Linked DNA regions of Homo sapiens: region 1 is linked to region 2. The links are contacts of gene promoters, found by promoter capture Hi-C in blood cells and fetal thymus (Javierre and others, 2016). All regions are on one chromosome and are shown on one strand. Each heading gives the region's core, a stretch centred on a gene start or on the middle of the fragment in contact. The rest is flanking DNA. Distances are from core to core; before and after follow the strand shown.

Region 1 (4,390 bases), core at 373-2,872, 1.1 Mb after region 2:
GTAATTCATGTTTAATATTCCTTGGCAAATACTGAATTTCAATCTGTGCTTATTTCATAGAGTAGAATCTTTCAAATGTTGTGTTATCGAGTCCTACATAGTCAAAGGGAGGGGAAAGACAAGGAGGGTGATTAAGGTGAAGCGTTTCTTCCATTACTGGTAGAACGAAGTTTCTCATCTCTTAAGCACCGAATTCTGCAATCATTCCAAAAGTGGAAGCTCAGCTCACAGCGCATTTTGGGGAAGCTTAAACCACACTAACCATTTAAGGTCAAGCAAACAATTGGCCAACCCTAACGTGAATTGTGCAGGGTTTTCATCTCAGATGTAACAGATCTCTCTATGTCTACATCCCAACTCCAGAAAACGAGAAATCGAGTTCCTCCTCTCACCATCGAAGCTCTGCAGACACCTCGCTGGAGACCCCATGGTGAGCCTCATCACGTAAAGGCCCCCTCGCAAGCTGCCGGCTCCAGCTTGCGCCCCACGTCTACCTAGGCTCCCTCTAGCCTCTTTAACGCACAGTCGAGCAACAGGCCCCTTGCAATCAACTCTAGCCGCCGGACTCCCGACCAGGTCTCTCGCTCGGGGTCAGAAGGAGGCGCGGGAGGGAGGGCGGCGGCGGCGGCGCCCGCGGGGCGGGGCGGGGACTGTGCGCAAGCGGGGGGCGGGCGCAGGCCGCGGTCTCGCTCCGCTCCCCTTTGTTCTCTCCCATTGTGTGGCACTTCCTCCTCAGGCGCTTCTTCTCTGCACCCTGGCAGCCCGTGGGGAGTTCGGGAAGGGGCCCTGGATGCCTTTTCTGCTTGTTTTTGAGTACGTGAGGACCTCCCCGGCACCGCCTCGCGCGGGTCCCTGCCCCGTGCCCAGGCGGAGGCGGGGTGGCCACTGTCCTTCCTTCCCGCTCCGCGCCCTCGGCGGCTTCCCCGCGGCCCCCTGCGCCGCGCCCCCTCCAGGAGGCGTCCTGACCCCGCACTCCGGCCTTTCACCTCCCGACCGTCAGCCTCAGGGCCGCCGCGGCGACGCGCGACCCCTTCCCTCTGAGGGGCGCGGGCTCCGGACGCGCCGGGCTCTGCCAGGCATCTAGTGGAGGGTCGGAGGTCGGCGACCAGCCCGAGCCCAGCCGTCCCGGGAGCTGGCGCGAGTGTCGCCACGACCCTCCCTGTCCCTTGCGCTCGCGCTGCCCGGCCGCCGGGCGGCCGCCTCAGCCCCCTTATATAGCCCTCTAAAAATAGCTCGCCTCGCACCGCCTTGTAAGGCAGCAGGGAGATCCGCAGCGTGCCAATCCGCGCCCGCCGCCAGGGCCAAGCCCCGCCCCAGGCTCTGCTCCGGGCTCCCCATTGGTCCTCAGTGACTTCATGAGCCCCCTGTTTACCTTACATGGTCACACGCGGCCTAATGGACGCCCTCCTCGAGATCCCACGGCTGCGCGGAGAACCGAACGGAGGGAGGGAGTTTGGGGAGGGGGAAGAGCAGGAGGAGGAGAAAAGGGAGGGGGAAGACTACAAACTAGCAAGGATGGGGTGGGGGGTGGGGAGGGAAGGGAAGGGGGGGGAAGAGAAGCGATCGCGAGAGAAAAAAATGCAACCTCCCAAAATAAAGAGCAAAGATTGCATTAGGAGCGAACAGCGCTGCAGAAATAGATGGCAGCTTCGTGTCAGTGAGTTTGCATCCCCCTTCCTGATCCACGAGCTGGAGTGATTAGAGCCCTGGAAGGGAATTGTTACTCCCGTGGAGAAGTCCCCTTTTCCTGGCAGTCGTCTGCACTGTACACGCTGGATGCCTCTCTCCATCCACCCCACTCACTCGCTCCTCTCTCACCTCCTCTCTCCCTCTCCTGCATTGATTTTTTTTTTTCCTTTTTAGTTGACTGAAACAAAACAAAACAAAAGGGCCACTGGATGTCTGCCTTCTTGGGGGGTGAGCCAGACAGACTGACAAACAAACAGCCCCAACTGTGTTCGGGGGAGGGTTTCGCCTCCCGTTTTGCCCGGCAGCAGCAGCATGGACGTGTTGGCTAGTTATAGTATATTCCAGGAGCTACAACTTGTCCACGACACCGGCTACTTCTCAGCTTTACCATCCCTGGAGGAGACCTGGCAGCAGGTGAATGATTTAAATTACTTGTGTAAATCGTGTGGTGGCGGCGGAGACGCAGGGGCTGCGTTGGTGTGGGCTCTGGGTTGAAATTTTTGTTTGTTTGTTTGACTTTTTTTTCTTCCTTTTTGGCTGTCTGTTGTTGAAAATGTTTTCTGAAACAGTCATCTGCGCTTACCTCTCCACCCACCCCTAACCTCGTAGAGTGCCGAGCTGAGCAGCCGGTGCGAGCTGCCTGCGTTTCAGTCGCCAACACACATCCCTGCGCACACGTTGTCGGGTTTGCTGTCCCCTATCAGAGACCTGCCGAACTTCTGGGGTTCGGAGGAGCCGGGTGGGAAGGTGGTTTGGGGTGTTAGGAGCGATTGCTGACAGGGACCACGTTCTCGCATGCATGAGCTCTACCCACTTGATACCTGAAATCAGGTTCATCTGTTTCAACTGGTGCTTATGACCATCGGATGGGGGGCGGGGGAGGGTGGGCAGGAGCAAAGCGGAGTGTTTTTCAGTAATTAGCGAGTGTCAATAAAGAATAGGAGCTTGATTTTGAGATTAGAAGGTAGGCAAAAGAGAGAAGAGCCCACTGACAAAAGATACTCAAGGAGGACGGGAAGATGTAGCTGAGGCTGACAATGAATTGTAGGTTTTCCCAGTGTGATCCCTCCAGAAAGAGAACACCCTCTATGCGTGTCCTTGTTTCTCTTTTTTGTTTAGGGTCCTTCTCTAGTTAGGCAGCACAACCTCGGACAAAGGCTGATGTGTGCTTCCATGCCTTTGACTTTGTCTTAGAGGACTAGTTAAGAAACTCCCAGGATGCTGAAGGGCACCGATGCCAAGTTGGCTAGCCGTCCCAGGGAGGATGAAGTGGGGCTGGTGACAAGTTCACTGGGCTTTGTGAAGTGGAATAAAGAAAGTGCTGGTCAGTGGAAAGTGCTGGCTCTGCTGCGGAAACAGTGGTTTTTTTCAGCAGCGATTAGGAGCTGCTGAGGGGACATTCTGCAGGAAAGATGGTGGGTGGGGGCGGGGGGACACGGGTATTTAAAAATTGTACAGTGTGCACCATGGAAAGTCCAAGAAGACAGTCCGGATTTGCACATAGGAAGTGTGAACTTGTACAGTCCGTCCTGGAGAAACCCGCTTGCCCTTGGGGGGAGGGCTGTGAGAGGCTCGGTGTGTGGCTGCTCGTGTAATTTCTTCGCTTAGTGACAGCAGCTTGTTAAGGCTAATGAACGGCTGAATTTCCTCTGCCGGGATCCAAAGCAGGATTTGCCAGCTTGAGGCTGAGATGTAACAGTCTCTGCTTTAGCAAAAGAGGTTTGGCTTTTGGTATAAGGAGCCGAGTGGCAAGGCGGATCCTTTAACTGTACCATTGTTGCTAGTTCACTTCTGGTCAGAGGCTGTGAGTTTTCCTCCAGGTATTGGCGTCTGGTGTCTCTGTGTCCACACATGCATTCTTGTCCAAGGACGCTAGCAGATGCTTGACTCTGTCTCTCTGTAAACACATACACAGTTCACATATTTTTAGAATAAAGTCTTTCTTCAATGCATCCTTTTCCTTATCCTTAACGAGAGTGTGTCTCATGAAGGGTCTCACTGGATCTTTTTCTTCCTTTTATTTCCAATGCTAATTAAACCAAAATCTTCTGAAATAGCCTTCATTTCACACTGTCAGCCCACTGGTATGGAATCGGTTGCATATTAACAACTGTCTAGACAGGTTAGAGAAGGGAATCTGTTGATTTAGTCAGCCTGCCCAAGGCAGCCCTTGTTTGTGACTAACTGTTAAGCAGTGTTAGAAGGAAGAAAGTTGGCTTTATTTGTTAGAACGTTCCCTACTGATGAATCATGCAACTTTGTTTTGGTTCAAGTTTTCAGAGTAGTAAAGCCAGATTTGGAGGAAGGTCTCTTCACAGGAAACCTGCTTTTCTAGATCTGGCTAGACCATCCAGGACAAACTCTAGATCTGCAAAGAAACATCATCGGTTTGACAACTAGAGGATGTATTAGATCTATTGTTTCCTAAGAAGCCATCTCTGCTCTTCCTTCTCCCCTCCTCCCCCTGCTCCTCTGCCTCCTCCCCATTCAGGGAAGCTCTAGTTTAGTTTCTACAGGCAAAGGATTTTTCACCCCTCGGAACCCCCTCATTTTTTGCCTTAACCCTCTCCAACTGCCAGCCACTCTCACCTTAAAACCCTTAGCCAACTTATTCAGCGTCATGCTTATAGCCAATGCTGATGCATAGCTTGTGGGGAAGCACTAATAAACAATATATCACTCCAGTGAGCTTTATGTTCTG
Region 2 (4,928 bases), core at 540-3,039:
ACCCAAAGCCTTCTGATATATCACCAATACTTCACCATTTCTAATTAAGGCTACTAATATATGCAGACCTACTACAAACTATCAGAAGCCAGTCAGTAAAGGCCGGACGTGGCTGCTCACACCTGTGATCCCAGCACTTTGGGAGGCCGAGGCAGGAGAATCCCTTGAGCCTGGGAGGCGGAGACTGCAGTAAGCCGAGATCACACCACTTCACTCCAGCCTGGGCGAGGGAGGGAGACCCCCGCCCGGTGGCTCACGCCTGTAATCCCAGCACCTTGGGAGGCCGAGGCGGGTGAATCGCCTGAGGTCAGGAATTCAAAACCAGCTTCGCTAACATGGTGAAACCCCGTCTCCCCTAAAAATACAAAAATTAGCCGAGTGTGGTGTCGCGCGCCTGCAATCTAGCTACTCAGGAGGCTGAGGCAGGAGAATCGCCTGAACCCTGGGAGGCGGAGGTTGCAGTCGGAGGAGATCGCGCCACTGCACTCCAACCTGGGGGACAGAGCGAGACTCTGTCTCTCAAAAAAAAAAAAAAAAAAAACTGGCAATGTAATAATTTAGGAAAGCTGAATATTGGAAATGTTAGCTTCTATCAACAAAGATTTCTTGTTCAATTTTTGACCAACACGCTTAAAGGAAAACCAGAGCAGGATCCAGAAAGCAGAAAAAGGGAGAACACAGGAAATTAGCCTTGCTCCACAGAAGAGATTTAACCTACACAATCTTTGTCACAAACACAAAAGAAAGAACATTTTTTGTAAGAAAACTGACAGAGTGGGAGTTTTGGAGTGCCAAAAAAGGGGCTCAAATAAATCAGAAATAAGTACATTATACCAAGCGACTACCTCTATTGTCAACACTGGACATATTTTACAACACAGGATGCACTGCGTCAATAGTAGATAATGAATCATGTATACACATCAGATACACACGAATAACTTGCTTTATACAGAATTCTAGCACTTCTTATATTTCTTGACTGTCTTAGGAATAACCTCTGATTGGGCAGAAAACCCCTAAGTCCTAAAAGTTTCCAACACATTCCATTCTCATCCTTTTGTTGGGAACATTCTAAGCAAAGGGTAAACACTAATTGGGAAATAATGCTCCTCCTCAAGAAACTCCAAAACCTAAGTTGAAATGGAATCGTCTCAAATAGCAGAGGCAAGCATTTAAAAAGACAAACACTTATTTGAACCCCCACGGTTGGTATCGTTTCTGCAGCTCATGAACTTTCTTTTCCAGCCTACGGATGCGCCTCTGACAAACTCAGAACTCATGCACTCAGAGGGAAAAGTAACTGTACTCTTCCCCTCCTAATTAAGTTCAGGCGTAAGGGTCGAGAGAGAGGCAAAGGAACTTCAAATGTTTCCAAGGAAATCTCAAGGGCCCCACCCGGCTTCCGTCCCCACTCGCCAGACAAGGCAGCCGGGGAATAGGGAGGACAAGCTAATTCTAAAGCCAGATTCTCTGCCCTTCCTTGCTCAGCCGGCAGCCAGGCCCTAGCCCCCGACTGCGGAGCCCTGGTTCTCACTTTCACCTCAGCTCTGGCCCTGGAGCTCCCCATACCGGCCTCCTTCCCATGCTGAGCCCCAGCCGGCCAAGCTCCAGGCCCCCTCCCTTACCTGCGCCTCCTGCCCCGGCCGCGCCGGCTGCCCCCCGCCCCAGCCTCCGCTTCAACGGCTCAGCCCCCGGAAGTCGGCCCCCGAGAGCGGCGGTGGGCTCCTCAGGCCGCGGACGGTTGCGGCAGGAAGCGAAGCTGCTTACATGGTTGATGCGGCTTCTCGCTTCCCCCCCCCAAGACTCCGCCCTCTGTTTTCCTGTCCCCCAGTCCGAAATCTTTCCCGGGGGCCGGCTCCTCCCAGCCCGGCCGACGCTCGGATCAGATGCTCAGGCAGAAGGAGTCCAGCCCAGATCGAGTCGTCCTGATCTTTTGGCCGAGATTAGGCCGCTTCAGCCTTCCTGGAAGAAGCCAGGGGGACTGCGCGCGTGAGCGTCACGCATGCGGGGTCAACGGATGGGTGCTTGGTGCTCTGGGCACTGCAGGGGTGCTGGCTGGACTGCGGTTACCGTATGTGTTCGATACTGTGGGCACTCATAATATGTTATTGCTTTGTTGTAGACAGTTCACTCGTGTAGCACTGAACCGGAGTTAGCGATGACTCTGTTTCCAGACTTGCATGACTCCACCAATAACCAGCCATATGATCTTAAGCAAATTGCTCATTTATTTAGGCCTTAGACCTCTGGTGTGTAAAGTCGGATTAATAAAAGGACTCACTTCTTAATACTTTTTTGAGATTAAGTAAATGCACTTAAAGCGAATGGCACAGTTCCCTGACCCAGAGTAAGTGATGTCGGCTTTATAGTTAATTTTTTCATTTAGGTGTTGTGTTGCAAATGCTGATGCAAATAAAGTTACCAAGCCCAAGCCCTATCTTGTTCAGCTTGGCTAGAGTTATTCGTCATTTCTGTCCTGCTGAGAGCGCAGTGCAGTTAACTGCAGAAAACATGCTCGCCGCAGTTGTGGGGCTTGGTAGGGGAGGATGGAAAGCAGACGAAACCTAAAGGGAAATGCAGTTTTAAATTCTGTGAGTCCTTTTCCTCAAGAGTTTTGTCAAATCCCAGCCCAGTTTTCCTGGAGTTGGAAAGCACCATCGAAACCTGCAGGTTGAGTCCAGTGCAAATCCCAGTCACCATCCTCAGCTGGGCCCTTCAGCAATCTTTCTGGGAGTCTGTAGTCAGCTTCTCCCATTCCTTATTACTGCTGCGTCAGACCACCACCACGACCCCCACATTACCTTGACCATCATTCTCATCAGAGAATCATATTTTATACCCACGTGAAAAATCCCAAGGTATCTGGGCGTGACCCTTAACAAGCTAATTCCCCACACACCACAACATTTACCTACATCCACATCTGCCCTGGTCTGCCTTTCTCCCTCATCTCTCTGAGGAAGGGGCCTCTTCTTCCCCAGCTCAATCCTTTTGGCCCCCAATTCACCCTCTCCTGTCTGGGAGCTTGCACCGTATCTGCAACCTCCCCTTTTCCAATGACTCTGCCTCCTCAGCCCATAAAGATGCTCAAGTCTCTGCCTTCCTTTAAAAAAATTTTTTTTAAAAATTTAAGATAAGCAAAAAAGGCCCTCGTAATTATCACCCTATGTTAATATTTCATAAACCTACAATAAAGTATGAAATAGGTACAGAGATCATATGAAAAGAATAAATTGCCCAGCCACGACGACTGCAGTGTATGTAGAAACTCCATCTATGGTTTAAAAAAAAAAAAAAAAAGTGCACTCCGCAAATATTTTTGAGTCCCTAATTTAACCTGCAGTGTGTTAGTTATAGAAGCACTACACTAAGGATAGAATTATGAACGTATCCCACTGCTTCACTTGACTAGCCTAAAAAATAAAAATATATGTGAACATTACACAGTCCATGTCCTCAAGAAGCTTACCGTCTAATATCTATATTAGCTTACAGTTTAATTTCTGTGGAAAAGAGATTGAAAACTGGGCTACTGTTTTTGCAAAAGAAATCATTTTAGATTCTCACTTCACACTAGACATCCAAAATTAATTCCAGATGAATTTTATCTGTAGAGAGATTATTTGTCTGTGTATATATCCTCCTCAAAAACTTTCATTCAAGCACAGATTTAGGATTCTTGCTGAATCAATTATTGTTCGATGATATTATACTTCTATTCCTCTGTATGTATTAGTTGAATTTTACTGCAACTAATAGCGTTCCATCTTTTTCTTTCTTTCTTTATATTGGTTAGTATGACTTTGGACTCATTTTTTTCCAACATGTTATAGTTCATTACTGCCACTATTCATTTCTGTGCTCCAGGTGTCCCCGCCTTGGCTGGTGTGAGCCCCTTCCAGCAGACTCCTGAGTCCATTTGACATGCCTCCATTACCTTTTGAGCACATCTTACTTTTTGTTCTTTTTCTCTCTCCGCCACCCCTTACCCCTGGCAACCACCATTCTACCCACTACTTCTATGAGTTCAACATTTTTAAATTCCATATATATGAGATCTTGTGGTATATTTCTGTGTCTGGTTTATTTCACTTAACATAATGTCCCCAGGTTCATCCATGTTGTCACAAAAGACAGAATTTCCTTATTTTTTAAGGCTGAATAATGTTCCACCGTATATATATACCACATTTTATTTTATTTTTTTGACATGGAGTCTGTCACCAAGGCTGGAGTACAGTGGTGCAATCTGGGCTTACTGCAATCTCCACCCTCTGCCCCAACCCCCCCGACCTCCACCCCACCCCTATTCTCCTGCCTCAGCCTCCCGAGTAGCTGGGATTACAGGCGCCTGTCACTGCACCTGGCTAATTTTTGTATTTTTAGTAGAGACGGGGTTTCACTGTCTTGGCCAGGCTGGTCTTGAACCCCTGACCTCGTGATCCACCTGCCTCAGCCTCCCAAAGTGCTGGGATTACCGGCGTGAGCCACAGTGCCCAGCCCCACATTTTCTTTATTCAGTTGTTCATTGATGGACACTTAGGTTGATTTCATATCTTGGCTATTGTGAATAATGCTGCAATAAAGATGGGAGTGCAGATACCTCTTAAAAATAGTGATTTTGGCTGGACACGGTGGCTCGCGCCTGTAATCCTAGCACTTTGGGAGGCCAAGATGGAAGGATTGCTTGAAGCCAGGAGTTCAACACCAGCCTGGTCAACATAGCAAGACCCCATCTCTATAAAAAGATTTTTTTTAATTTCAATAAAAGAAAAAATAGTGATTTTATTTCCTTTGGATATATACCCTGTAGTGGGATGGCTGGATCACATGATAGTTTTATTTTTAAATTTTTTGGCAACTTCCATACTGTTTTCCATAATGGCTGTACTAATTTGCATTCCTACCAACAGTGTGCAAGGGTT

What was found. The method cuts DNA at HindIII sites, captures the fragments that hold promoters and counts their contacts. A CHiCAGO score of 5 or more calls a contact.
Region 1: a contact is called between the fragment with the promoter of KLF7 here and the fragment with the promoter of PIKFYVE in region 2, in 5 of 17 cell types (fetal thymus, total B cells, non-activated CD4 T cells and 2 more). The highest score is 11.3, in fetal thymus.

The regions. Positions count from the first base shown.
Region 1 is chr2:207,163,180-207,167,569 of GRCh38, reverse strand. It overlaps KLF7 (KLF transcription factor 7), which reads left to right and starts at 1,622. Exons shown (of 4, transcript NM_003709.4): 1 at 1,622-2,103. The coding sequence starts at 2,002. MIR7845 (microRNA 7845) reads right to left here and starts at 1,170; the gene lies at 1,072-1,170. RefSeq lists silencers at 111-160, 781-1,420 and enhancers at 1-486, 487-1,194, 1,195-1,903, 1,911-2,010, 2,612-3,320 and 1 more. The HindIII fragment of the contact is 8,010 bases long and covers 249-4,390 here.
Region 2 is chr2:208,263,116-208,268,043 of GRCh38, reverse strand. It overlaps PIKFYVE (phosphoinositide kinase, FYVE-type zinc finger containing), which reads right to left and starts at 1,789. Exons shown (of 42, transcript NM_015040.4): 1 at 1,629-1,789. RefSeq lists a silencer at 1,503-1,772 and an enhancer at 1,903-1,952. The HindIII fragment of the contact is 8,601 bases long and covers 1-3,469 here.